7 separate regions of the Homo sapiens genome follow, and regions 1, 2, 3, 5, 6 and 7 are each linked to region 4. The links are contacts of gene promoters, found by promoter capture Hi-C in blood cells and fetal thymus (Javierre and others, 2016). All regions are on one chromosome and are shown on one strand. Each heading gives the region's core, a stretch centred on a gene start or on the middle of the fragment in contact. The rest is flanking DNA. Distances are from core to core; before and after follow the strand shown. Region 1 overlaps RNGTT (RNA guanylyltransferase and 5'-phosphatase). Region 2 overlaps RNGTT (RNA guanylyltransferase and 5'-phosphatase). Region 3 has its middle 2.0 kb from the start of RNGTT. Region 4 holds the start of AKIRIN2 (akirin 2). Region 5 overlaps RNGTT (RNA guanylyltransferase and 5'-phosphatase). Region 6 has its middle 7.1 kb from the start of UBE2J1. Region 7 overlaps RNGTT (RNA guanylyltransferase and 5'-phosphatase).

Region 1 (4,185 bases), core at 1,298-3,797, 1.2 Mb after region 4:
GTGTTACTATGAATGAAGTATGGACTTTAAGGGGATAAACACCAAAACCTCTATCTTTGTAAACCAGAGTAAGAGTGTAGGCAAAGTGGCTAAGCCACAGTCATTGGATATATTAACATACTAATAGAACAAAATATTACTCATCATGGAATTTTTAATCTAAATTTTTTAACTCAGAACTACATATTTTGAAATATCACAGCGAAGTAAAGCAGACAGAGAATATCAAACAAATAAGGAACCCTTCTGGAAATTTTTAAACCTAAAAAAAATAGTCTAGATGTATGCTACAGTTCTTTTAAGGTCCATAAAGGGACTGGCATCAGTCTTAAGAAAAATCTATAAAACAATTCTAGCTGTTAATGTAATTAGGCAATAAAAAAGTTAGTCTACAAGCTACAACGTTCAACCTTCTGGCAAAGACCTGGCAATCTGAGCCACTTGAGAAAAGAAAAAAAGAACAATTAATACTTCATCCACATACATTCTTGTCAAATCTGGAAGAATCCTGAGTCCTTCCAGCAGACACTAGTCCTACTTTTTGTCCCTAATTTTGAAGCACTTTTTGTACTTATCTGTCTTCTACTTTGCTTTCCTTAAATAACCAAAATTTAGGAATTTCATAAGCCCAAGGATCAAAGAGTACCATCCCTCTACTATTATACCATTATTTCTCTGTACTAGCCAATGGCATTTCTGTTTAAAACCATTTTTATCATTAAGTACAACAGCTAAAGGAAAAAAAGAGTATTTTTAAAAGAAAGCTCAACCAGATAGATGAGGTTTGTAACATATTTACTTATTGAGTGCTCAGATAATTTCAATATCCTTAAAAAATTGTTTCTTATGCTAATTAAAAAAGAACACTTCTTTTTAGAGAGTTCAATATTAAGCATCCTAATTCTGATGGTATTAACAGCATGAGATGTTCTTTTTAAGTTTTACACAAAGAAAGTCTCTAGCTTCATTTATCAACGTGGATTTCCTATGCAAAGTTAAGAAATTTACATTAACTTCTGAAATGGGCAAAATAAAAGCAAAGGCCAAATTAACCTAAGTTACTACTAAAAACACAAACACTATTTATATTTTTAACATATAATAAAAAGGACTAACACATAGAAAATATGATCACATTCAACCAAGCACTTTCCCACAATATTACCACAGAAATATTTTAATAACATTTCTATGGGGTTGAAAAAGCTGAATATTTTTAATTTAACAGAGCCAATAAATACTGAGCATCAGTACAGATCTAACAACTACTGAGTCTGGTTATAAAAGTTAACCCCAATCACCTAGTAAATGTCTGTCATCCATTTATTGTTCTTCTTCCTTAATCTTTCCTACCATGCATCAACTTCTTTTTTAACTTCCTCTATTTTCTTCCACAACAAATAAGTAAAAAGAAAGGTAGAAGTCCAATAAAAAAAAGTATGATACACTTCATACACAAATCATCCTTGGTAACTTTAGGCTAACATAATTTGCTATTTAATGTTACTACAATAGTTCTGACAAAATACCATTTTTATATTATTCAAAATTATATAACTCCAAGAAAGACCACTAATTTTTTTATTTATTTCTAGATGCAGTTTCTTTAATGTAAGCCAATTCTGGTTATTTCTACCTAGAGCTGAAAGCAACCTGAAAATACCCATCTTCATTTTCATGTTAGAGATCTAGAAACTGTTTCAAGATTCTAAATGTGCAAAAGGTCTAAGAGGGGAGAAAATAAAATCTTTTAAACAAGCTTTGCACGTGCTGATACTGCTCATTATTTCATTATATCAGCCCTTCCAAATCTTGAATTTGCATTTTTAACCAGTGTTAGAAAATCCTGTATTTCCCTCCCTGGGAAATATGGGAAGCATGAGCCATGACATATTCCTGAAGCTAAATCTCAGGGCATCACCTCTCACAAACAAGAGATCAAGATGCTTTTCATATTTATTTTATTTTAAAAATCCACAATGGATAAAAGAGAACAATCATCCAGGATGTAGGTGCCAGACACAGGGCAGAAGGTAGCTAGAAAAGTATGCCTTAGGGAAGTTAAGGGCCTAGCCTCATCCCTACCTTGTTTTAATAGCTGTACCTAACATAAACAGCTTAGTTTTCCATTGTTGTAGCTTCCTCTGCCCCATTTACAAACATGGCACAGCCGGCATGCCTTGCAAGGCCTGAGTTGAAGGACCGCATGTACACACAGACCAGTACAGCAGTACTAGGCTAACTAGAAGGATATCATCCCCATATGTGATCTCATTCCAAGTCTACAGCTGACTACCTTCATTGTTATGTATGAGATGGTTTCACTCCTTGAAAATATGGCCACTTCAGCATAAAATAGTTAAATCTTTATAATGGAAAGATCACTAATTCTAAACAGTGGCCAGATGTGGTGACTCATGCCAGTAATCCCGGCACTTTGGGAGGCTGAGTCAGGAGGACTGCTTGAGCCCCAGAGTTCAAGACCAGCTTGGGCAACACAGTGAGACCCATCTCTATTTATAAAAATAAAAAATAAATAATTAATTTTAAAAATAAATTTTAAATAGCAATGTCTTCGGTCTGGAATTATTGTGAACATACTATAATTGAGTATTAAAGTCACTGACATTTATTTTCACTTTTCAACAAATTATTTCTGTTTGTGAAAATAAAGAAAAATCGAAAGTTAAAAAAGTATGTTTATAGAAATATATTTCATAAACAGAGTCAGCTAGCCTTAAAATTAAAATCTGCATGGCTATCACAACAGAAATGAGTGATCCTTTAGACAGAAATTTAGTAAATATTACAGAAGATGGAGGCAATTTATGTGAGAGAGAGCTCTGTGTGTGTGTGTGTGTGTGTGTGTGTGTGTGTGTGTGTGTAAAGAGAAAATGTATACAAGAATATACGTACAACAGGCATATTTTCATAATGAGGAAAATACATTCATCGTTGTATTCAAAGAAATGATCTCAGACATCAGTTCAAGGAGTAAGCAACATACCTGTAAGTCATACTCTTCCAACTTAGTAACACATGTACTCAAAAGATGAATAAAGAAGGTGTCTTAGGAATGTAAGGGGCCAAGCACAGCATCGGACATGTGCCACAGTTATAAACCCAAAGAGAACTATCAGAATTAATTACAAGGAGTCCATTACTTGAATACATAGTTATATCAATATAAGAATCAGAAAAGACTGTACTTAACAAAAATAAAGTCTCAAACCAAAAATACCTTCATTATGTCAAGAGATGTGATCTATAAAATAGTCACTCTTAGATTGCCTCTGTTAACTATCTTCAACCTCAGATGGAAATAAAAGAAAAATGAAAGCTTTTCCAACCATAAATGTAATAAGTAATTATATCTGTGCTTCTCATCCCTGTCAACCATAGGTCAACTACAGTTGACACCATCCACAATTCAACTCTTCAGTCCCCTTTCTTCTCTGATGGTTTTGTACTCACTGCTTTAAAGCCCCTTTTCCTTGGTTCATCTTATCAATAATCACCTTCCCAAAGAGTTCCAATGTAAACCCTGGAATTCCTTTTTCATAAATAACCTTCCCCATCACCTCAACCATTTTCTTGAACACCCCGTACCGTGTCTCAACTAAAAGCTAGCTCTCCCTAGACAGATCATGTCATCTTAAAGCTACTTATTCTCCCACAGCCCAAGATCCATGGCAGTAATTTAAACTACTGTTCTATACCTCCTCACTGCTTTCCTAATCTCTTTCAAAAGGCCCTCTTGTGTTTACACTAATTCCTTTCAGCTATACCACTCAGCTGTAGTAAAGCAGAAATCCACTGTGGGTACTGGCATAACAACTCTCTTTAAGGGCTGCCCTCCCAACCCACAAAGATGGGGCCTAATAGCTATTTTACATGACATTACAAGATAACATCCTACTCCAGCCAAAGTTGATGGGAGCACGAATAACCCCTAACTCAATCTGAAGCCATCAGATTCTCTCTCCTGGTAATTTGGAATTGGGATTCCGAGACAAGCAGTTAGTCTCTGCATGTGGCTAAAATTATAACAGGTTACCTTAGAAGCTTCGAGACAGTTAATGATCTCCCAGGAAAATCAGGAATCAGGAAGAGCCAATCTTGAGAGACAGAGACAATGAGAAGACTGATACAAATAAAGGGACAAAAGCAGAGATGCGATATTAA
Region 2 (4,136 bases), core at 950-3,449, 1.2 Mb after region 4:
TTTATCAAAAACCCAGGTTATACATTTGATACATTTAAAAATATATGCCAAAAAAATCACTTTAATCTCATTTGTATATTATGGTAGGAGTTCTTTCCAAAAAAATTTTTTACTATGTGGAGGCCAAAGCAACTCCATCTTGGATGCTAATCTGCCTATGTTGACTTCTGATTAACCCCAGTTCTGGGAAGGCCTCTAAGATTTCTAGTTTATCTACTGTTCTTTGTGTAAGAGCATGTCCTAACTATAAATCCTGCCCAAAGGTAAAAACAACCTTGATGTGATTGTACTTACTTGTTCTACTTAACCCTTCTGAATCACCTGTTTCCTGTGGTTTATAAGCCCTGGCCTTGGGAGTAATGGTGGGGATCCACCATCTTATCTCACTGCCACCTGACAAGCAGGACTGGTTTCTTTTTAAGTCCCTATTAAATATATCTTTCTAAGAAACCGGATTTGTCAGTCTCTTTCTTTGGTTTCTTTGCTTCCTTGGACTTTGAGAATAGGTTTGCATAGGCCTGCCCACCACAAAACATGCTACTTTTAAAATTTTTTTGAAAACAACTATCAATTGAGCCAAATCACCAATTTCTACATTCCTGGTATAATAAAATGACCATTAATATTTAGAATAAAAACCTTAGTCATTGAACAACTCTCAATAAAAAAGGATATTTATACAATGGAACTGCAGACAGTAGGAACAATCTGTGCAAATGTAAATATATTAATCAAAAAAGCACATATGGCAAACTATAAATAAATCAGAATGGCTAGAATATGAGCTGTGGTAAGAAATGCCAAATGCAGTTGGAGAAAATGAAAGGGTCAAAATCCTAAAAAAACCTGTGAAACATACTAAAGATTATAAAGGCAATGGAGATATAGTAAAGAATTTTAAGCATGGCAATAAAATTATCAGAGTTTAGAAAAACCACTCCCACGGCTGATTATAGCTCTGGCCTGTAATCCCCACCCCAGCACTTTGGGAGGCTGAGGGTGGCGGATCACTTGAGGCCAGGAGTTCAAAATCAGCCTGGCCAACATGGAGAAACCTCATCTCTACTAAAAATAGAAAAATTAACTGGGGTTGGTGGCGGTTGCCTGTAATCCCAGCTACTCGGGAGGCTGCGGCAGGAGAATCGCGTGAGCCCAGGAGGCAGAGATTGCAGTGAGCTGAGATCATGCCACTGCACTCTAGCCTGGGCGACAGAGCGAGACACCATCTCAAAAAAAAGACTGAGAATGAACCATGATGGGCTTCAAAGAACAAAAACACAGGGTCATGTATGCCAAGTAAAGGAAATTTTCTAAGTTATGAGTGCTTAGATGTCACATAATGATTAGAATGGAAAATCACTATTTGATTAAGAGTGCTAGCCAGGTGCAGTGGCTCATGCCTGTAATCCCTGCACTTTAGGAGGCCGAGGCGGGAATATCACTTGAGGCCAGGAGTTCAAGACCAGCCTGGACAACACAGTATGACCCTGTCTCTACAAAAAATAAAATTTAAAAAATAGCCAGGCATGGTGGCAAGTGCCTGTAGTACCAGCTACTCGGGAGGTTGAGGTGGGAAGATTGCTCGAGACCAGGAGGTCGAGGATGCAGTGAGCTATGATTGCACCACTGCACTCCAGCCTGGATGACTGAGTGAGACACAGTCTTAAAAAGCAAACAAACAAAAAACAGTGCTGAGGGAGGACTCCAGACTGCAACAAAGTGGATAGGAAAAAATGGATTCAAGTATAGATTCTTTTAAAAAGTCAGCTGAGAAAGGGAAGAGGGAATGCAAAACAGAAAGAAGGGTACGGGGTTTTTTTCAGCGGGAGGGGATTATTTAACAAGTTTAGGTATGTTTACAGGCTCAGGACAAGAACCTAGTTAAACCACAAAGCTTGACAATAATAGAAACGATATAAGTGAAATTAAGTTTCTGAAAGAAGAAAATAAAAAACAAAGAGATCAGCCTTGAACTGAAGACATCACTTAGAAATAAATAGCTATGACCAAGAAAATCTATAAATTCCATTATCTCCATTGCTTTGTAAGAAAAAGTGCTTCAAAAAAGCCACACAAAGATGTGCACTATAAACACATTTTTGTATTCATGTATCTTAACCCAACATGTAAATTTCCTTACTATCTTCTATTTCAGACCAATTCAAGCAACAAATATTTCAACTTTCGATGTTTCTCACCTAAGCTACTGTTTTTGTATCCAATTTTTACTCTTGCAAGATTAAATATTTTTATGAATAGGAAATGTAATAATAATTGCCAATTAGCTAATATGTCATGTGAAGATATGTAATCTAGGAAAGTACCATTTTCCTTTTAATATTCTTTATATGCAAATACAAAAAGTCTTAGTCTAATGGTTCAGTTATACATCAAAACATTTATAGATAGGGTTATAAAGTTACAAAACCATCAAAACAAACCACTATAGAAAAATGTGGGAGATTATGTATTTGATATTAAAAAATCCATTAATTAGGTATACTACAAGCTTAGATACGTCTTCAGTTTTTGTTTAAAGCAATTTTCAGTTTTCTTCATCATGAGAATGGGTCCATCTAGTGGTAAGTAAGCCACAGTTTTTAACTAAATATTAGCTCACAATTAACTATTTCAAGGCAACTTCTATTCAAATTTTTCCAGGCAAGCTAATATAATGAAATAAATGTATATGGCATTTACAATCAAACTAGGGAAAGAAACTCCCCAACAAATAGACAGAGAGATTAGCTATAGCTATACATGTTGGGGCAGTTTATAAAGGGGCTGGTGACAATGTATCTTTTTAAATAAAGCCTGATCTCAACATACACTATTTTGGAGGGTGTGGGGGGTATAGACAGGGTCTCTCTATGTTGCCAAGGCTGGTCTTGAACTCCTGGGCTCAAGAGATCCTTGGCCTTGGTCTTCTGGGATTGTAGGCATGAGCCACCACACCTGGCCCACAATTTTATTTCTATCTCACTAGCTAGATAAATTTTTTAATGCTAAAAATCCTAATTATTTGATCAGTCTAATTAGGTCAGTAGTTCTTTTTTTTTTTTTTTTTTTTTTTTTTGAGACGGAGTTTTGTTCTTTTTGCCCAGGCTGGAGTGCAATGGAGCAATCTCGGCTCACTACAACCTCTACCTCAGCCTCCTGAGTACCTGGGATTACAGGCATGCGCCACCACGCCTGGCTAATTTTGTATTTTTAGTAGAGACAGGGTTTCACCATGGTGGTCAGGCTGGTCTCAAACTCTGACCTCAGGTGATCCACCCGCCTCGGCCTCCCAAAGTGTTGGGATTACAGGCGTGAGCCACTGCACCGAGGATTCAGTAGTTCTCAACTGGGGAAGATTTTGCCCCCCAGGGGACATTTTGTAATGTCTAGAGACAATTTTAATTGTTACAATTTGTGGGATGAAGTTGAAGTCCAGCCTGAACAACATAGCCAGACCTGGTCTCTAAAAAATTATTTAATATAATACAATAAAGGCAAAAAAAATTAATGCAGTTGTTCCTCAGACTCCTCAGGGGATTGGTTCTGGGATCCCCCTCAGATACCAAAATCCTCCGATGCTCAGTGCTCAAGTGCCTTGTATAAAATGGCATAGTATTTGCATATGACCTATGAACATCCTGCCGTTTTCTTTGAATCACCTCTAGGTATTACTTATAATACCTAATGCAATGTAAGTGCTATGTGAACAGTTACTATACTGTATTTGTTGTTTTGAAAAAAGCAGGTTATTTATATGGTACAGTATGCAGCTATTATTTAACAGAACAATATTATGAGATATACATGAAATATGTTAAGGATGTGTGTATATATATTCATACATTTATATGAATATATATAACAGTCACACATACATACACATATATTGAGGTATATGACTAGAACCTACACAGCTTAAGGTAATACTGAGGCCTTTATCTGAATAAGTAAAAACAACTCACAGAAGTGTTTTCTCATTTGAGAGAAGCCATTATAGGGGTAAACATTAAATATGCTTAATGAATTCAAAGGAGGGCAGTCAAGCAATTTTAACCTCTGGCATTAGATGTCATGATTTTAGAAAGATTCATACTCCAGGTTTAGGAAAACAAATTCATCCTTGTTATAAATTGTGC
Region 3 (3,633 bases), core at 668-3,167, 1.3 Mb after region 4:
GCCTTTGCGCATGTGCAATTGCCCTCGTACCGAACTCCGCAGGACGAAGCGTGTATTTTTTTCCCATCCAGACAACCTAGAGAAACCCAAAAAAGAGGGAAGCCAAGCGCCTTTCCATGCGTAGATTGCCCGCCACTTCCGTTAAGGCATCTATTTTACTGATGAAAAGAGGCCTTCTGAGCGTTACCACAGCTCAAGCTTGGCGTCCCAGCCGGATCTAGGTTTGATTTGCAATTAGGGAAAGTTGTTCAAGGGAACAAGTCTTAGGAGAATTCTAAGGACATGAGATTGGAGTACCAGAAATGGGGAATTTTTCTTTTGGTGAGTACTTACGAGGATCTATGAAGCTTCTGAAATTAATTCCAGAACACTTAGAGTTTTGTTTGTACATTTCTGGATCAAAGTTTCAAAGCATACTGGGGAGTTTGAGAGGGTCCATGTCTCCAAAAAAAGTTACTAATTAATGTGGTATAATTGACAAAGGTAGGAATTGATCAGTGGAGAACCTCTTCGTGGCGTTGTTCTCCTTGGCCTACCAAATAAACAGTGCCTTTTATTTTCCCTTCGAGTTAAGCAGAGGTGCTTGAAAAATTTTTATAAATGCCGTCCTTTAACGAGCCTTTCCTTTGTTACCAGATTAAAGTGTTAAATATAAAGCTGGATGATGGCGAATCAATTATAATGTAGTTTGGCTTTAAACACCAATGCTATATTGGAACTGCAAGAACGTAAGGCTGCAGGGAATACATTTTTAAAGCGTCGGTGGGGAACTTTCTGGGACGCTCAACCCCCTGAATGCCTGGACCCCCTCAGTAAGAGTCCCATCAATAGAGGCAGTCCAACAGCAATCTCTCTGAGGCAGCCTGAGTTAGGTCACACTTCTGGTCTGTCCTGCTGTTGCATCTGCTCAGAACTGTTAGTGAAGGTGTAAACTCCTCCCCTGACAGAACAAGATAATACCCAGTTTCCTTTAAGGCCATCAGTCTACCCAAATAATCTCCGATGAATTCCCTTTTCTGCTGATAGAGTGTGTACCATGCCCAAAGTGGTAAAAACCTTCCATCCCCAGACCCCCTCCAAGGATGGGAAAGGTGAGCCTGATCCTGGAAGAGTATCTTACCTTCCCCTTCTGGGGATGACTCCCCTTGGTGACTCCCCTTCCCACACACGCTATACCCAGTAGCTCAGTCCTAGGCACACAGAAGCTTCATACCACTGGCGAGCAACTGTTATTGGCTGTAAGGCAGCAATGTGCACTGGATTTTTATTCTGCTATCCAGTTATGCCCTCTCCATACTCATTGCCACAGAATTGGGAGGACCCTGTGGCTACCTTTTGTCCACAATAGAGAGTAGAGTAGGAGAGTGGCATCCCGATGAGCAGGCAGTTTCTCTCTGCCTGTCAGGAATGCCTTGCCTGATGTGTGTTTCTGCCTATATTGCTCCTAGTCCCAAGTTTCTACTACTCTGTGAGAAGAAAAATAGATGCTCACAGACAGACCAACATGATTCCTCCCCCGCTTCCTGGAACCCCTGACACCCTCCCAGATATGTCTTGATCTCCTCTTTATCAGATGTAGATTCTCTTCATTGGTGAGTCTTTCATCAAACATCCATTTTGCCCATAAGGAAGAGTGTGTACATGTAAAAAATAAGATTGAACGTTCTCTTTTGGCAAAAGAGAGAGATCTTATCTGTCTTCCCTTTTCCTAGGACTTTTCCTTGAGAAAAACCTATATTTATTAATCCTTCCTCTTCACTTTGATATGTAGATAAATCTTTTGTTTTTGCAGACAGGGTCTCACTTTCTCACCCAGGCTAGAGTGCAGTGGGCATGATCAGGGCAGCCTTACTGGAGCCTCAACCTCCCAAGCTCAAGCAATCCTCTCACCTCAGCCCCCAAGGAGCTGGGACTACAGGTGCAGGCCCCCACACCCCACTAACTTTTTTATACTTTTTTCGTCTGGAACTCCTGCAAGCAGCCCTCCCACCTCAGCCTCCCAAAGTGCTGGTAAGACAGCCAGGTGGGAAGGATTCCTTGGCAGAATCTCCTTTTGACCTGAGCACTGGGAGGAATGCACCCTGTGGTGGAGCCTTGGGAAATTTGCGCCATTTGCAGTGGGGAGGAGCCTGGCCCCTCCTTTTCCTAGGTGGAACCTGGGATTCAGTCTACCAGGCAGGAAGCACTCTGGCTTTGGGGAGAGTCTCTGTTTCCCTTTTTTTCTTTTTGCCCAATAAATTCCATTCTCACCCTTCAAGGCATCTGTGAGCCTAATATTTCATGGCCATGTGACCAGGACCCAGCTCTTAGCTGAACTAAGGAGAAAGTCGTACAACAGCTTTGGCACCCAATGTGGGGCTTGAGAAGCGGTTGAGTGACACGGGGACTCAAAACTTTTCACTGTCATTTCTAAGCCTTTTCATGCGTGGACTTCTGAGGGTAGGGAAACCATGCCCCCACTCCCATCGCTCCCTGGGGTCAGGGGCCTTTCCATGGCCTTTGCCTTCGTTTTTTGGGAAGGATAGGCAAGTCGCAGCTCCTCATTCCCTCTCCCCTCCCAGCTGGGGCTGGGGAATGCCACATGTCCACAGCATCTTCCCCTTCCCTGGCCAAGGCTCAACTCCATCTGATAAGCTTCTCTCCCTGGTAGAGGAACCATTTGCCTAAGAATAAAAGGTTTATTCCCCCAGGCATCCTTTTTTCTTCACCCCATCAACAGTTAACTTTTAAACCAGATGTTTTTTTTCTTTTTCACTAGGCTAGGAATGATAAGGATCCCTGTTTATATTCTCCTTAAAGTTTGGTTGTGAAAAAGGATCTTATGGGGACTGGTTTTCTTCTGCCTGTCTGTGTAGCTATATATATGTTGTGTACATGATGTCTATGAAAAGAGCTCAAAGGCCAGGCACGGTGGCTCACACCTGTAATCCCAGCACATTGGGAGGCTGAGTCAGGCAGATCACCTGAGGTCGAGAGTTCAAGACCAGCCTGACCAACTTGGAGAAACCCCATCTCTACTAAAAATACAGAATTAGCCAGGCATGGTGGCACATGCCTGTAATCCCAGCTACTTGGGAGGCTGAGGCAGGAGAATCACTTAAACCTGGGAGGTGGAGATTGCACTCCAGCGTGGGCAGCAGGAGCAAAACTCCATCTCAAAAAAAAAAAAAAAAAAGGAGCTCTAAGGCCAGGTGTGGTGGCTCATGCCTGTAATCCCAGCACTTTGGGAGGCCAAGGCAGGCAGATCATTTGAGAGTCAAGAGATTGAGACCAGCTTGGCCAACATGGTGAAACCCTGTCTCTACTAAAAATACAAAAATTAGCCAGGTGTGGTGACGTGCCTGTAGTCCCAGCTATTTGGGAGGCTGAGGCAGGAGAATCCCTTGAACCCAGGAGGCAGAGGTTGCATTGAGCTGAGATTGTACCACTGCACTCCAGCCTGGCCAACAGAACAAGACTCTGTCTCAAAAAAAAAAAAAAAAAAAAAAAAAAACTCTAATTGGCCTAAAGGAAGACAAGTGCTTAGATCATATATTTTTTAAAGGGAAGGTAAAAGATGTGGTACCTTTCAGTTCATGTGACTTTAATCTTTGAGAAATAAAAACAGCCTTAAAGATTATTGGTAAAAAACAG
Region 4 (3,656 bases), core at 659-3,158:
ATACTTCGGTTTTTTAAGCTACTGATAACGAGACATTTAAATCAAGCTATGGAAAGGCTTTGTCTAAAGGGTGATATTATTACTAAAGGCTCACACAGAAATCTTTGCATGCTACACACAAAGGAAACATTTACACTTCTAGTCCACAAAAGCCTATCCTAGGATTGTGCCAGGGGCACACAAGGATTTCAAAGTACAGAAAAAACTGGGCATACACATGCCCTACAAAGCAGCCAAAAGACATTCCCCAGTCTCTCTCAGGAAATGTTTCAAGATGAAAAGCAAAAGTCTGAAGTCCCTTGGAATCTTGGGTTGATTTCTTCATTATTCTCAAGGCTAGGTTGTTTTCCCCCAGCATACTTTGTTGGGCAAAAATAAAACATTTCCAAATAAAAGCAACTCCTCAGCCCCAATTTTCAATGCAATATGCTTATTAAAAGTTCAACATTTCTCAAGGTCTAGACTTATAGTGTGATCATATTACAGTACTCGGGAAGAGCATTTTCTTTGTTGTTGACCCTGCTAGGGAAACAGGTCTTGACTCAGCCAAAGTGGCGTTCTTGTGGGTGATTAATGACAGGCCTAGATCTCGCCCTAGTGACATCCATCCCCCACCCCCCACCCCCACTATACTAAAATCAGCCGTGTCTGAACTGAAGGAGGGGCTGTAGCCTCGCCTCAAACCACCCAGTCCCAGAGTTAATAGCTGCAACCAATCGATTACGGCAAGCACACATCCAGATTGGGGTGAAATGTGACCCTTTCGCCTAAATTTACGAATAATATCGTCCTCTCTGATCATTTCCGCTGGGGCTCCAGCGACTACGGAAACAATTCCAATCATTCGGCCCAAAGAAAAAGATGTCCCTGTTCTACCCAATACGGGCAAGGCAAAGCCCCTACCCACCTCCAAACACTATCCCCTTGACATCAGCCCATTTCTATTGTGTCTTATTAGGTCCTCGGGCTACGAGGACCTAGTGAAAAACGTGGCTGCCCTACTACTTTGCTAAGAACAAGAACCACACAGTCCGGCACCCCCACCCCAGGGGCCGCATCCCACACCCCAGGACCCCTGTTCCCAGTTCTCTCCACTACCCCGGCGGCCGCGGGGCCGGGTCCCACCTGTGGTGAGGCGGGAGGAGACGTCGCCGAAGGGGGATGGCTCCATTCGGAGATACTTCTGCGGCGAGGCGGCCGCAGCGGAGAAGGAGGCGGCGGTGGCCGCGGCCGCCGACAACGGGGAGGCAGCGGCCGAGGTGGGCGCCGACAATGGCGCACATCGCCTGCGCTTCGGGGACGCCGGGCTCAACAGCGGGTCGAAATCCAGAGTCCTTTTCAGAGTGGCTCCGCACGCCATGGCCGGGGGCAGCTGAGGCGCCGGGCTCGGGTGGGGTCGGGGACGGGTGACGAAAGAAGAGGGTGAGGGAAGGGGTGAAGAGCGGGAACTCGAGGAGAGCCTACCCGACGGGCTCAGGAGCCAAGCGGGTCGCGGAGCGCCGGCTGTGGAAAGGAGAGCCGCTGCCGCCGCTGCCTCCGCGGCAGGGGCAGTGGCCAGGGACGGCCCGGGTGAGAGCGGGAGGGGCGGTGGCGGGCAGAAGCACACGCCAGTCGCGTCAGGGGGGTTCTTCCGCCTCCTCAGGCGCGGCTCCCCCGAGAGAGGCTCCGGCCGCCCCCGCCGTCCGCTCGAGCTTTGCGCCGCGCCTGAGGCGCTTCTGTGCTGAGACTAGATCCTTTCTGAAGTCGAAAACAGCACCGTGGGGTGTGAGGCTGGAACGCGGCTCCTAATACGCCCGAGTACGGTCAGTAGCTTGCGAGCGGCGATCGATGCAGAGAGATTGCGAGGTAGCTGCCGCAGCAGGAACCCAAGCGAACACGTCCAACCGCTTCCCCTCCCTCGTAGAACTCTCCCACCCGCCGCCGGCCCCAATATGGCGTCAATAACAACGCCGCCGATTCAAATCCGGCGGCCTCAGAGCGCTTGCGCACGGGGGCGGGCCAAACCGGGGATGCATTTTGGGAGTTGTAGTTTTTAGGTACCGGGAGGAATCGGCTTGAAAGGCGGGAAGGGAGGAGTCACAGAAACTACGACTTCCGTCATGCAAGGCGCGCGATTCCGAGTTCCGGGTTGGAATTTAAATCCCCCTACACAGCTTGAGTGTAAGAGGAACTAAGCAAAAGAGAAAAAAAGAGAAGGTTCTGAGACAGTGGGAGATGGGAAAGCGAACCCGTGGCAAAAGCAGGCTAAGCGACATAGAAATCTTTTAAGATTCTCCGTATAGTTGCTCCCACAGTGATTTCAGATCTGGGAAATATAATAAACCAATCTCTAGTCAAAGTTAGCTTAATTTCGGTAGCGACAGTACCCAAAACAAGACCTTTCACATGGAGAGGATAGGAGATAATGAGATTATGAAACCTATTTAGGACTGGCAGACAGAACAACAGTAATAGTATCAGGTTACAGGATCCTTGATTCAACTCGATGCTCTACCCTTCGGAGGTAGCTGCTTCATCCACTAATGAAATTCTGTAAAGCCAGCTTTGCTTCTGTAAATGAATAGGACTTGAACGACTTACAGAATCAAATTGTTTTGCGTTGGGTAAAAAGCAAGTGGTATCAGACATTGCATTACTTCTGTTGAATATTGGTGCATATATTGTGAACTTTGTTACAAAACTAATCAAAAGACAGTGAAATGTTTAGGTAATAGATATTGGATGGATCCATTTTGTAAGCGGAAGGGGAAAAAAGTGTTTCTAGAAGTTGTACTTTTAGTCACATACCTAAAATAAGAATCAAATACAGCGCTAATTTAGAAAGTGATCTGTGTAGCCGGGCATGGTGACTCACGCCTGTTATCCCAGCACTTTGGGAGGCCGAGGCAGGCGGATCTTCCTGAGGTCAGGAGTTCGAGACCAGCCTGGTCAAAATGGTGAAACCCCGTCTCTACTAAAAATACAAAATTAGCCGAGCGTGGTGGCGCGCGCCTGTAGTCGCAGCTACTCGGGAGGCTAAGACAGGAGAATCATTTGAACCCGGGAGGCGAAGGTTGCAGTGAGCCGAGATGTTGCCACTGCACTCCAGCCTGGGTGATAGAGCGAGTCTCTGTCTGAAAAAAATGAAAAGAAAAGAAAATGATGCCGGGCGCGGTGGCTAACGCCTGTAATCCCAGCACTGGGAGGCCGAGGCAGGCGGATCACGAGGTCAGGAGTTCGAGACCAGCCTGTTCAACATGGTGATACCCTGTCTCTACTAAAAATAAAAAAAATTAGCCGGGCGTGGTGGCGCACACCTATAGTCCCAGCTACTCAGGAGGCTGAGGCAGAAGAATCGCTTGAACCCGGGAGGCGGAGGTTGCAGTGAGCCAAGATCAAGCTACTGCACTCCAGCCTGGGTGACAGAGCTAGACTTCGTCTCAAAAAAAAAAAAAAAAAAAAAAAGTGATATATGTAGAAACTATCACCAGTGCAATATGAAACAATTTTGTGAATGCCAACTGTCAAATGATTATAAATACTGATTTCCAGTGCTCATGTATTCTTCTTTATTCAGTAACAGATGTTTTATAGCCATTTTGTCTATTATTTTTAAACCATATTTAGAAGTAGTTCAATATATTCTTTTTTATAGACAATTTTATAGAATTGTCCAG
Region 5 (4,046 bases), core at 57-2,556, 1.2 Mb after region 4:
CATTCATGGAGCTTCCAAGCAGCTTCTCTGCCTCGTTTCAAATGCACAGCCAACCAAGGATCACCACACATTTGAAGAAACTAGAAACATAAAGAAGAAAGATGATTCAAGGAAGAGAAAGATAACTTTAAATATGCTTTTAACTAGTATTCTCATAGAGATTCAAGAAGCTATCACAACCATAAACCAAGAACAATTTGTCATGAAAAGGTACAGGCAGAGAACAAGAATGTATGTACTATTGACAAAAGCATAATTACCAGAATAAGTAATTCAACAAAAAGAAAGGAAGAAAATAAGAGAACCTGGTACTTGGCACATAACAGACACTTAAAAAATTGTGGAATGAATATGTTTTTCATTTAGTCAATGAAACAAAAAATATATATAGACAGAGGGAAAAGTCTAAAAGCATACACACCAAAATGTAAGCAGCAACCATCTCTAACTGGTGAAATTACATATGTTTTTCGTGTTTGTCCTGTTCCTTATCTTCATTTTCTAACTTTTCTACAATGAATACAAATGACTTTTATAATGGGGAAACACATTTTTAAGACATTATCATTTTTTCATTATAAGACCAGAATCACAAGGCAAAAAAGAAATTTTTACTAAAATGCTTATCAAGTCCAAGTTAGAAAAAGTTTCAACTACTACCATTAATAATAAGATAGGTTTAGTAAGATATAGACATACTCATTGATCTTGACCTAATTAAGAGAATTTGAAAAGCTTGCAAAATAACAGGACACTGCAAACTTATTATTCGTAGCACAGATCAGGTAATTGGTTCCAATACTAGTAAATAAATCTCATGAATCAACCAGTTCTGTATATAAGAAGCCTCTCTTGGTTATTTTAATTAGTTACTTTCAGATTAAGTAGCTCTCATAATGAGAATGTACAGTGTCTTCATTAGACTTCAAAGTGTAAAATCAAATGATATACTCATTTGCATTAATTACCATTTATGTAACAGGTTATGCTTTTCAGAACTCTGTAGCAATACAAGTTAAATATGTAAAATACAGCATTCTTTTAAGTGATCTTCCATCAGGGTATGCCACATTTATTGCTCTAAAGATTTACCTTGATATGGAATAAAATTTAAAAGCCACTTAACGTATTCTGGGCAGCACTACCTATCACAGAGGCATGTAAACAACATTTTAATTTTTATAAAGTAATCCATCTTCATGAAAAGAAAAGATCAAAAGAATTTTCCCAAAAGTTTTATTTTACATTTGTCCCTGACTCGCTGATTACTTTCAGTTTTCTTTTGTATAAAGCATGCATTCTAGAAAAATCAACTATAATTATTTCAAACAATTTTTCACAGATTCACAAAGAGGATAAAGTTTTTTCCCCTTTTTTATCCAAGCCAGCATTTGCCACTTCCATAATCACACATAATGAATAAGAGTATGTGAGCAAATAATGAGTTAAGAAAGTATCACAGAATCGTAAAAAAAAAAAATATGAAAATCCAGTTAACACCTCATCTAACAGATAAGCTCTACTGCTGAGATGGGTCAAAGCAAATGTTCTTCCATCTGGTCAGCAGCACTACTCAATACTAAATATCAATATTCAATACTAAATATATCTTACTTATTTCCTATATAAAATTTAAAAATCCATCTATGAACACCCAATATCACACTCTTAAAATCAAAACAAGCAGTCATATTTCATATACAGTATCAAGTAATGCTCTTTATTAGCTCTTTAGTATCTCTTACTTAGTTGTCTGGTACTATACATAGTTTTGTTATATCTCTTACTACATCTTAAATTGTACTTCATTTTCCTGCTGAGAGTAGGAATTGTACTTTTACTTTCCTCTAGTGTCTTGTATTGTCTTTGAGACCTTCTAAAGCTTACAGTAGCTTAACAGTTATCTATTAAAGCAGTAAATATTGTCTGCAAATATATTTATTATCCCATTAAGTGAAAGGAGCAATGCAATTTGAATTACCATCACAAAGCAATTTGAAAAAAAAATAATAGAGTTTTTCTATTATTTATTTATAAGAGAACAGCCTATATCATATCCCATTATATGGAGGATCAGAAAGTAAGGAAAGAAAACAGCAGGTAAGAAGATGAAGGTATAATGTCTCGAGAAACCAAACATCCAACTCTTAATATTGATTATCCCAAGGGGTGGGATAAAAGTTCTCACAGGGAGAACTTTTTAATTTCTTTTTAATGTTTTATGAGGAAGACAGAAGACATTATCAGAAAAAATATATTTTAAGACAGAAAAATTCATCTATTAGCATAAAACAGTAAAAATAACTATCAAAATATTGAAAAAATAATGAGGACATGACCTGGCAAAAAGGATTCTGGGCTCTGGGGCCAGATCACTTGCATTCAAATCTCAGTCCTGCTACTTACAATAACTGTGTCTGTGACCTTGAAAAAGCTACTTATTCACAATGCTATCTTACAGCGTTGTGAGTATTAAATGAGATAAATGTTCTATGTAAAGTACTCAGAACAATGCCTAATACACATTAAGTGTTCAACAAGTATTACTTGTTATAACTGTTGCTATAGCCAAAATACAGAATGAACTTGTGCAACCACACTAGTATTCAAAAAAAACTGCTAATCAAAGCAATTTTAAAATTCATTTTCCTTTAATTTTTACATCAATAAAATCTTTTAAGAAAAAAATTCATTTTCCAATTGTCAACTTGGCTACATTACTTATATTAAGTGAAACTACCCCAAATTGCCAAGGATGTACACTCAAGCACTGCTGTTCGGAGTGTATCACTACAACCTCTAGCAAGGTATATCAAGGACTTCAAAGGTTTCCATACTATATCTAAGTAATACTATTTTTGTCAAAATTTATGCAAAGATGGGTATAAGAAGATCAGTACAGTTATTTATAGCAACAAAAAAACTGGAGTCTAAATGCCCCTATAATCGAGGGTGAACTATTTTTTCTTGGCAGCAATTAAGTCATTTTAAAAATACATGTTATAACAATGAAATATACTCATGTTAAGATAAAAAGCAGCATACAAAAATAATCATGCCTGAGTATTGTGGCTCAGGCCTGTAATCCCAACACTTTGGGAGGCCAAGGCAGGCAGATCACTTTAGCCCAGGAGTTTGAGACCAGCCTGGACAACACGGGGAAACCCTATCTCAACAACAAAAAAAAGACAAAAATTAGTTGGGTGTGGCGGCACGCGCCTATAGTCCCAGCTACTCTGGAGGCTGAGGTGGGAGGTCGAGGCTGCAGTGAGGCATGAGTGTGCCACTCCACTCCAGCCTAGGCAAAACAGTGAGACCCTGTCTCAAAAAACAATCATCATCATCATCATATAGTTTAGTTCTAATTACCTGCTAAGCCTATCATAGCTAGCACAATCTCTGGCATATGGTAAATGTTCAATAAATATTTGTTAACTACATGAATGAACAAAGAGACAAATTCAATCTCTTTATCCTGTATTCCTTGTTTCTCATTTGTTTGGGTCCAGTAGCCCAGCTCTATATAGGGGAAAAAATGTTTGAAAATATTAACGAAAAATTCATTTGTTTTAATCTTTCAAAGCTTCACATGTTTGCTGCCCCCAGAACCTGGCCAACTGAAAATTCTGAGTTAGGGTTGCACCTATGTTTGCAATCAAAGTTTTATCTGTATCTGCTCAGCTCTAAGAGTTCTCTAGCAGATTTTGGTAATAGGTAATAAATTTGGTTGGTTTTTATTTTTAAATACCATTTCAAAGACAGTATCTCTATTAACTAGTAGTAACTCTCATACTTAGGATTTGATTAAAGAAACTGCTATTTAAGGGACCTTTTTATCCTTTAGTAAATCCTAAAGATGTGACTACTAACCAATGGGTATTTCAAAGATTTGGTTTTAAAATGTTAGATTGTTTTGCCTTTGCTTAATTTTCTTCTTGTGCAATAACTATACCACACCCTAAAAGAATTCTGAGTGAACTCTGGGAAATCAATGTTGGTTCTCATGTAATAATGGTTTTCAAAACAGTCTTCAGTTATAACAACAA
Region 6 (3,950 bases), core at 156-2,655, 1.7 Mb after region 4:
ATATGAAAAACATTCTTCAGTCTCCAGACAATGCACAGCATATACATGATTTATGAAATTCTTACAGTAATTCTGCAGCCATGGGGCATTTCGACAATATTATTGTCTTCAGAACAATCAGTACTACACTGCTTCCCATTAAAACCCAAGTTACAATTATAGGCAAACTTTGAATGATAACCACATCGTCAACTTCTCAAAAGTAGTCCTGTACTTTTTTCAGCACTAACCAACCAGAAGGTATAGGTATGCCACAATTTGCCTTCTAGCATCTTGTGAGAAAATACTGGAGCCAGTTTAACTTCTTTGGGGAATTCAAGTTGGGTCTAGGTACAGATGCTGGCTGGGCGCGATGGCTCATACCTGTAATCCTAAAACTTTGGGAGGTGGAGGTGGAGGGGAGGATCGCTTGAGGCCAGAAATTCAAGACCAGCCTGGCTAACATGGTGAGACCCTGTCTCTATGCAAAAAAAGGGGGTGGGTACAGATGCTATTAAATAGTAATATATACCATATATGCAGAATGGAAAGCAAAATTTTTCCAAAAATATCATTCCTCAGAAAAGAGAGTCACCTTGTGTTTTTGTCTTTGTCCTTTTTGAACAAAATACTCTTCAGGAAGACAATATGTCGTGAAAGGGTCACAAGTAATGGCAATTTTCTGTCTTATAAAGGTCACCTAGCAAAATCAGGGGAAAAAAGGCAAAGACATATTGATTAATTATTCCTGAGGGTATGACTTTGGATAACAAGTATTGGAGATCATTAAGTAGGCTTTTAAATAATTATTGAACAGAGAAATACAAGAAGTACTTATTTATGGTGATTATGAATATGTAGGAAAAAAACCCTGATGTTTAACAAGTGGTTCTCGAGATGTAGTAAAATCTCCACTGACAGCATTCTACTCAATGTAAGGCATGCTCTACCTTAGATAACTAGGAGGGAACTGTTAGAGGACTCACAATGTTGTTTCAGTGATGATAGAGACCCAGTTGTAAACGATGCATGTGAAGTATTTGAATAAAATTGTTTGAGGAAAAACCAATTTTTCTAAATTAGTACCATTTGCATAATTTGTGCTATTAGATGTAAATGAGTATTTAAATACTGAATCAATAAATGGTTTAAATAGACTTAAAATTATTTACATTCACAAAAGTCTACATTTGAAATATAGGTTAAATAATATAAACTCTTAAAGCTGCATAATCAAGTTGGAAAAAATGCTAACACTTGGGGTGTTGATGTGTATGTAGGTATGGAGGATGCAAGAAAGCTCCCCTAGGTGATTGCAACCCTAATCCCCTACCATTTCCCCTCCCTATCCCTTTAAACAACTACAGAGAAAACAGTGTCTCACAAATTATAAGAATTGTTTAGGGTCCTTATTTAAAAATACAGATTTCTGTATTTCTCCCTGGAGATTCTGATTCAAGAAGACCGGGATGGGGCTGGGAATCTGCATCCTTAAGCACTCTAGATGATTCATAAAATCAGGTAACTTTGGAAAATATGGGCCTAGAGCATTAAATGAAACAGTACTATGTGTATTGGTGGCACCGTTTCTTGCACCTTATAAAGCTAAGTGAATTCCTTCCTCTCCTACGGAGATGGAAAGATACATAGGACTGTCTCCCGCAGTCACCCCCTTTACTGCACTGCTTCCCAGGGAAAAGAAACAAAAGCCTAATTACCAAGGCCACCTTATAAGCAGTCTGGGAGAAGGCCAGAATTAGTTCCAAGTTATTGGCTATCTAGGTGAGGAAAGTTGAGTACTATGGGGCTTAGCTCTCTGCAAAGCCAGAGGGGAGAAAACTGAGTAGCAGCCCTCTTAGGGACTTAGGCAATAATGAAAGCAGAAGGCAAACAAAAGCAGCTTGTAGGAATGGAATTCTCCACGTGGTGATGAGGGTTAGCATGGGACTGAGGTTTAAATTGCTCTATCATAGTTGGCCTTTCATGAGAGGGGGATTGGTTTCATGACTCTCAATTTTGGAAGAATAGAATAACCCTGCTGGCCCCAGGAGCTTATTAGGAAAGATTGAGGAAGCAAGATGGTCAAGGTCTCAGGCAGCTGGACACCAGTTAATGCCCCCACCCTCCTGAGTGTAGTCACTGGATCAGCTCCCTTTCAAAATAGCACAAAAGGGCAAACTCATGGATTCTTTTTTTTTTTTTTTTTTTTTTTGAGACGGAGTCTCGCTCTGTTGCCCAGGCTGGCGCCCAGTGGCGCGATCTCGGCTCACTGCAACCTCTGCTTCCCGGGTTCAAGCGAATCTCCTGCCTCAACCTCCTGAGTAGCTGGGATTATAGGTGCGTGCCACCACTCCTGGCTAATTTTTGTATTTTTAGTAGAGACGGGGTTTCACCATGTTGGTCAGGCTGGTCTTGAACTCCTGACTTTGTGATCCACCCGCCTCGGCCTCCCAAAGTGCTAGGATTACAGGCATGAACCACCACACCCAGCCAAACTCATGGATTCTTGATAACGGATAAGACCAATGTCATCTGAATTAACAAAGGACCCCTTAGGAGTCAGACATGAGCTCATGAGTCACTAAACTCCATGTAACGCTATCATATTATAGTCAAGGATAGAGTCTGTAATAAAAATGATCCTCTCAGGCCTACAACCCCATCAACCCTTCACCCGTAATACAACCCAGCATACAAAAATACCCAAGGATGGCAGTGAAAAGAAAAACCACTTTAGTAAACACTAGAAGGCCATGATCAAATGAAAGAAAAATTCAGGAACTTACTCAGAATTTCCCATTTGTTAAGATCTCTTAATTAACAGAGAAGGAAAAGATTTTAGGTTGGAAAGAAAATCCTTAGATATTTCTGATGTGGCCAATGGGTTCATTCTAACACTACTTTACAAACCACAGGTTGTGACTCATTAGTGGATTGTGAGATCTTTTTAAAAAAAGCAAATGAAAGAGAAAATACCAGAATGCATTGCATGTAGAGAGGATATAACTTGGTAAGTTTTTTTTAGTAACATTTGTATGAGTGTGTGATAGTTTGCAATGTGAACTGTATTTATTGTGGCTCACAATAACAAGTTTAAAATTGATTTCATAAAGGTGAACTACAGTTCTGTCCCAGGGCAATTTTATCTAGCGTTCAAACATGGCTTCAGGCATGAGTTCACATGGACGTTCTACTTTTTAAAGATGGTTTAGTTTTTCAAGATTGAATATGAGAACCACACTTCATCTCAGCTTTAACTGCTAAATCATTTATTGAAACCATAAATGTAATATTCTACAAAGAAAAGACTATTGACTTGTAAATATTTGTTGCACTGTTCTAACAATATTGTTTTGGATTTTTTTTTAAATCCTGGAATTAAGTTGTTTCTTGGAATAATATGATACTTCAAATTGGTATCTTAAAATCATGAACGAGACTACTAGAGCTTATATTTTCACTTTCCCAGGACTATTGCAAAATACTGATGATACAACTGAAATAAGATCACTGCCTGAACTTAACTGTAATTTATGATAAAAGTAGGTCTTTTGAGGACCTCTAGGACAAGTATGACACATTTTAAAATCACCCAGCCTTTCAAAATTCTGAATGATGTGAAAGAGTTTTGCATTTACCATCAGATTTTTCTCACATATTCTACTGTTCCTGATGACATGTTAAGAGAATATAAACATTCTTAGGCGACACTCTTATAAATAGTTCCCTGGTACGAACAGATTGAAAAGGGTAGAAAAGTAAAATAAACTTTTGTTTGTTTGTTTGTTGAGATGGAGTCTCGCACTGTCGCCTGGGCTGGAGTGCAATGGTGCGATATTGGCTCACTGCAACCTCTGCCTCCTGGGCTCACACGATTCTCCCGCCTCACCCTCCTGAGTAGCTGGGATTACAGGCGCACACCACCACACTGGGCTAATTTTGTGTATTTTTAGTAGAGACAGGGTTTCACT
Region 7 (3,977 bases), core at 1,202-3,701, 1.2 Mb after region 4:
TCATTTCTATGTGTTAAGAGTATTTCAAGTTCTCTCTTCTAGCTACTTGGAAATACACAATACATCATTGCTAACAACAGTCACCTTACCCTGCTACCAAAAATAAGAATTTATACATTATATCTAACTATATGTTTGCACTAACCAACCTCCCTTCACCATGCTCCTCCTGCCCACACACCCTTCCCACCCTCTGGTATCTATCGTCTATCATTCTACTCTCTATGTCCATGAGATCAGTTTTTTTTTTTTAAGAGATAGAGTCTCACTCTGTTGCCCCGGCTGGAATGTAGTAGCACAATCATAGCTCACTGTAACCTCAAACTCTTGGGTTTAAGTGATCCTTTCATCTCAGCCTCCTAAGTTCTAGGACTACAGATATGAAATCAACTTTTTTGGCTCCCACAGGAGTGAAACTGTGGAATTTGTCTTTCTGTGTCTGGCTTATTTTGGTTAACATAATAAACTCAAGTTCCACCCATGTGCTGCAAAATGATGATTTCATTTTTTCTTCATGGCTGCATAGTATTCCATTGTGTATATATGCCACATTTTCTTTATCCATTCATCCACCCTTTGATAAAATTATTTCTGTTCCTTTGGATAAATACTCAGTAGTGAAACTGCTAGATCGTATAGCAGTTCTACTTTTAGTTTTCTGAGAAATTTCCATACTGTTTTCCATGGTGGCTGTACTAATTTACGTTCCAACCAACAGCATATGAGTTCTCTTTTCTCCACATCCTTGCCAGCATCTGTTGGTTTTTGTCTTTATAATAGTTTTGTTTTGTTTTTTTGAGAGAGAGACAGGGTTTTGCTCTGCCACCCAGGCTGGAGTGCAGTAGCACAATCATAGCTCACCACTGTAACTTCAATCTTCTGGGGTTAAGGGATCCCTCCACCTCAGTCTCCTGAGTAGGTAAGATGGCAGGCACATACCTCATGCCTGGCTAATTTTTTGAATTTTTTTAAAGATGGTGTCTCGTTATGTTATCAAGGCTGGTCTCAAACTCCTGGCCTCAAGTAATCCTCCCATCCATCTCAGCTTCCCAAAGTGCTAGGATTACAGACATGAGCCACTGTACCTAGTCATAAATAGCCATTCTAACTGGTGCAAGATGATATTTCATTGTGGTTTGGATTTGCATCTTCCTGATGATTAGTAATGTTGAGCTTTTTTTCAGCATTTTTTCATATATCTGTTGGCCATTTGTATGTCCTCTTTTGAGAAATGTCTATTCACATCTTTGCCCACTTTTTAATGGGATTTTTTTCCTGTTGTTTCCAGTTCTTTGTATATTCTGGATACTAATCCCTCAGAAGAATAGTTTGCAAATATATTCTCCTATTCAGTAGGTTGTTATTTCACTCTGTTGTTTCCTTTGCTGTGCAGAAGCTTTTTTATTTTATTTTTTGAAACAGAGTCTCACTCGTTGCCCAGGCTGGAGTACAGTGGTGTGAATATGAATCACTGCAGCCTTGACCTACTGGGCTCAAGCAGTCATCCTGCCTCAGCCTCCCAAGTAGCTGGGACCACAGGTATGTGCCACCAAGAAATAAGGTCTCACTCTGTTGCACAGGCTGTTCTCCAATTCCTGGCCTCAAGCAATCCTCCCACCTTGGCCTCCCAAAGTGCTGGGATTACAGGTGTAAGCCACTGTACCCAGTCCAGAAGCTTTCCAGTTTCATATCATCCCATTTGTCTATTGTTGTTTGAGTTGTGTTTTTGAGGTCTTAGCCATAAAATTGTTACTGAACCAATGTCCCACGGTGTTTTCCCTATGTTTTCATCTCAAAACTACTGTTTTCTGCTTTCAGGTCTTACATTTAAAGTCTTTAATCCATCTTGATTTGATTTTGTATATGGTGAGAGATAAAGGTCCAGTTTTATTCTTCTGTATATGGATATCCAATTTTCCCAGCACCATTTATTAAAGAGTGTCCTGTCCCCAATGTATGTTCTTGGTGCCTTTGTCTAAATCAGTTGGCTGTAAATGCATGCATTTATTTCTGGATTCTCTATTCTGTTCCATTAGTCTGTTTTTACACCAATGCCATGCTGTTTTGGTTACTATAGCCTTGTAATACACTGTAAAGTAGTGTGATGCCCACAGCTTTGTTCCTTTTGCTCAAGATTGCTTTGGTTATTCAGGCTCATTTCAGGTTCCATAAAAATGTTAGGATTCAGGTGGGGTGCAGTGTCTCATGCATGTAATCCTAGCACATTGGGAGGCCAAGGTGGGAGAACTGCTTGAGCTCAGGAGTTCAAGACCAGCCTAGGCAACACAGTGAAACCCCATCTTTAAAAAAAGTTTTTTTTAATAAAATTAAAAAGTTAGGAGTTTTTTCTATTTCTATAAAAAATGTCATTGGTATTTTATAGGGATTGCACTGAATATGCAGATTGCTTTGGAAAGTATGGTCATTTTAACAATATTAATTATTCCAATCCATGGGCATGGAGGTCTTTCTATTTGTTTGTGTTCCATTCAATTTCCTTCATCACTGTTCTAGTTTTCCTTGCAGAGATCTTTCACTTCCTTGGTTAAATTTATTCCTGAGTATTTTACTATTTTTGTAGCTATTATAAATGGGATTGCCTTCTTGATTTCTTTCTCAGCTAGTTCAGTATCAGCATACAGAAACACTACTGATTTTTGTATGTTGATTTCTTTTTTTGTGTATTTCTTTCAAAGACAGGGTCTCATTCTTTTGCCCAGGTTGAAGTGCAGTGGCTCAATCATGGCTCACCACTGCCTGGAACACCTGGGCTCAAGTGATCCTCCCACTTCAGCCTCCTGTGTAGGTGGAACTAGAAGAACACACCATTGTGCCTGGATAACTTTTACATTTTTAAAAAATATTTTGTAGAGATGGGGGTCTCACTTTGGGGTCCAGTCTGTTCTTGAACTCTTAGCCTAAAGCAAACCTCCCACCTTAGCCTCCCAAAGCACTTTGGGGTCAAAGGTGTGACCCACTGTCCAGCCTGTATGTTGATTCTGTATCCTTTACTGAATTTCTCATCAGATCTCAGAGTTTTCTGGTGGAATCATTAAGTTTTTCTAGATTTAAGATTATATCATCAGCAATGAGGGACAGTTTGACTTTTTTTCCAATTTGGGTGCCTTTTATTTCTTTCTCTTGCCTGGCTGCTCTAGATAGTACTTCCAATACCATGATGAATAAGTGGACATCCTTGTCTTGTTCTAATTCTCAGGGCAAAAGCTGAAAGCTTTTCCCCAATTAGTATGACGTTAGCTGTGGGCTTGTCATATATGGTCTTTATTATGTTGAGTTATGTTTCCTCTATGCCTAGTTTGTTGAGAGTTTTTATCATGAAGGGATGTTGATTCTTATCAAATGCTTTGTCTGACTCTATTGAGATGATCACATGGTGTTTGTCCTTCATTCTATTGATGTAATGTATCATATTTATTGATTTGCATATGCTGAACCATCATTGCATCAGAGATACTGGCCTGTTTTCTCTTTTTGTTGTGGTTTTGGTATAAACATAATGCTAGCTTTACAGAATGAGTTAGAATTCCCTCCTCTTCAATCTTTTCAGGATTATTTGAGGATTGGTGTTAGTTCTTCCTTAAAAGTTTGGTAGAATTTGGTGGTGAAGGCATCCGGTCCTAGACTTTTTGTTGGGAAATGTTTCATTACTGATTAAATCTCCCTACCTGTTATTGGTCTGCTCAGCTTTTCTATTTCTTCCTGATTCAATCTTGGTAGGTTGCATATATCTAGGAACTTATCCACCTCTGCCAGGTTTTCCAGTTAGTGTATACTTGTTCATAATAGTCTTTGATGGGCCAGGCACGGTGGCTCACGCCTGTAATCCCAACACTTTAAGAGGCCGAAGCGGGCAGATCACGTGAGGTCAGGAGTTCCGAGACCAGTCTGACCACCATGAAGAAACCCCATCTCAACTAAAAAATACAAAAAATTAGCCAGGCGCAGTGGCACATGCC

Evidence for each region. Contacts are between HindIII fragments. The CHiCAGO score rates a contact against its expected background, and 5 or more counts as called.
Region 1: a contact is called between a fragment that was not itself captured here and the fragment with the promoter of AKIRIN2 in region 4, in 2 of 17 cell types (megakaryocytes and erythroblasts). The highest score is 6.7, in megakaryocytes.
Region 2: a contact is called between a fragment that was not itself captured here and the fragment with the promoter of AKIRIN2 in region 4, in 1 of 17 cell types (monocytes). The highest score is 5.3, in monocytes.
Region 3: a fragment that was not itself captured here is called in contact with the fragment with the promoter of AKIRIN2 in region 4 in 2 of 17 cell types (total CD8 T cells and naive CD4 T cells); the score reaches 5.8 in total CD8 T cells.
Region 5: a contact is called between a fragment that was not itself captured here and the fragment with the promoter of AKIRIN2 in region 4, in 2 of 17 cell types (erythroblasts and total CD4 T cells). The highest score is 6.9, in erythroblasts.
Region 6: a fragment that was not itself captured here is called in contact with the fragment with the promoter of AKIRIN2 in region 4 in 1 of 17 cell types (non-activated CD4 T cells); the score reaches 5.5 in non-activated CD4 T cells.
Region 7: a fragment that was not itself captured here is called in contact with the fragment with the promoter of AKIRIN2 in region 4 in 1 of 17 cell types (M1 macrophages); the score reaches 5.1 in M1 macrophages.

What each region holds. Positions count from the first base shown.
Region 1 is chr6:88,892,386-88,896,570 of GRCh38, forward strand. The region is part of intron 6 of RNGTT (RNA guanylyltransferase and 5'-phosphatase); the gene reads right to left. Among named protein-coding and RNA genes, the nearest start is that of RNGTT, 69 kb to the right of the region's middle. The HindIII fragment of the contact is 1,581 bases long and covers 1,758-3,338 here.
Region 2 is chr6:88,916,658-88,920,793 of GRCh38, forward strand. All of the region lies in intron 4 of RNGTT (RNA guanylyltransferase and 5'-phosphatase), which reads right to left. Among named protein-coding and RNA genes, the nearest start is that of RNGTT, 45 kb to the right of the region's middle. The HindIII fragment of the contact is 615 bases long and covers 1,893-2,507 here.
Region 3 is chr6:88,963,810-88,967,442 of GRCh38, forward strand. No RefSeq gene overlaps it. Among named protein-coding and RNA genes, the nearest start is that of RNGTT, 2.0 kb to the left of the region's middle. RefSeq lists a silencer at 1-106. The HindIII fragment of the contact is 1,429 bases long and covers 1,204-2,632 here.
Region 4 is chr6:87,700,325-87,703,980 of GRCh38, forward strand. It overlaps AKIRIN2 (akirin 2), which reads right to left and starts at 1,909. Exons shown (of 5, transcript NM_018064.4): 1 at 1,126-1,909. The coding sequence starts at 1,360. RefSeq lists silencers at 1,081-1,290, 1,471-1,640 and enhancers at 1,801-1,860, 2,171-2,480. The HindIII fragment of the contact is 11,354 bases long and covers 1-3,656 here.
Region 5 is chr6:88,873,190-88,877,235 of GRCh38, forward strand. The region is part of intron 8 of RNGTT (RNA guanylyltransferase and 5'-phosphatase); the gene reads right to left. Among named protein-coding and RNA genes, the nearest start is that of RNGTT, 88 kb to the right of the region's middle. The HindIII fragment of the contact is 1,147 bases long and covers 734-1,880 here.
Region 6 is chr6:89,357,875-89,361,824 of GRCh38, forward strand. No RefSeq gene overlaps it. Among named protein-coding and RNA genes, the nearest start is that of UBE2J1, 7.1 kb to the left of the region's middle. The HindIII fragment of the contact is 6,763 bases long and covers 1-3,950 here.
Region 7 is chr6:88,933,245-88,937,221 of GRCh38, forward strand. All of the region lies in intron 2 of RNGTT (RNA guanylyltransferase and 5'-phosphatase), which reads right to left. Among named protein-coding and RNA genes, the nearest start is that of RNGTT, 28 kb to the right of the region's middle. The HindIII fragment of the contact is 1,557 bases long and covers 1,674-3,230 here.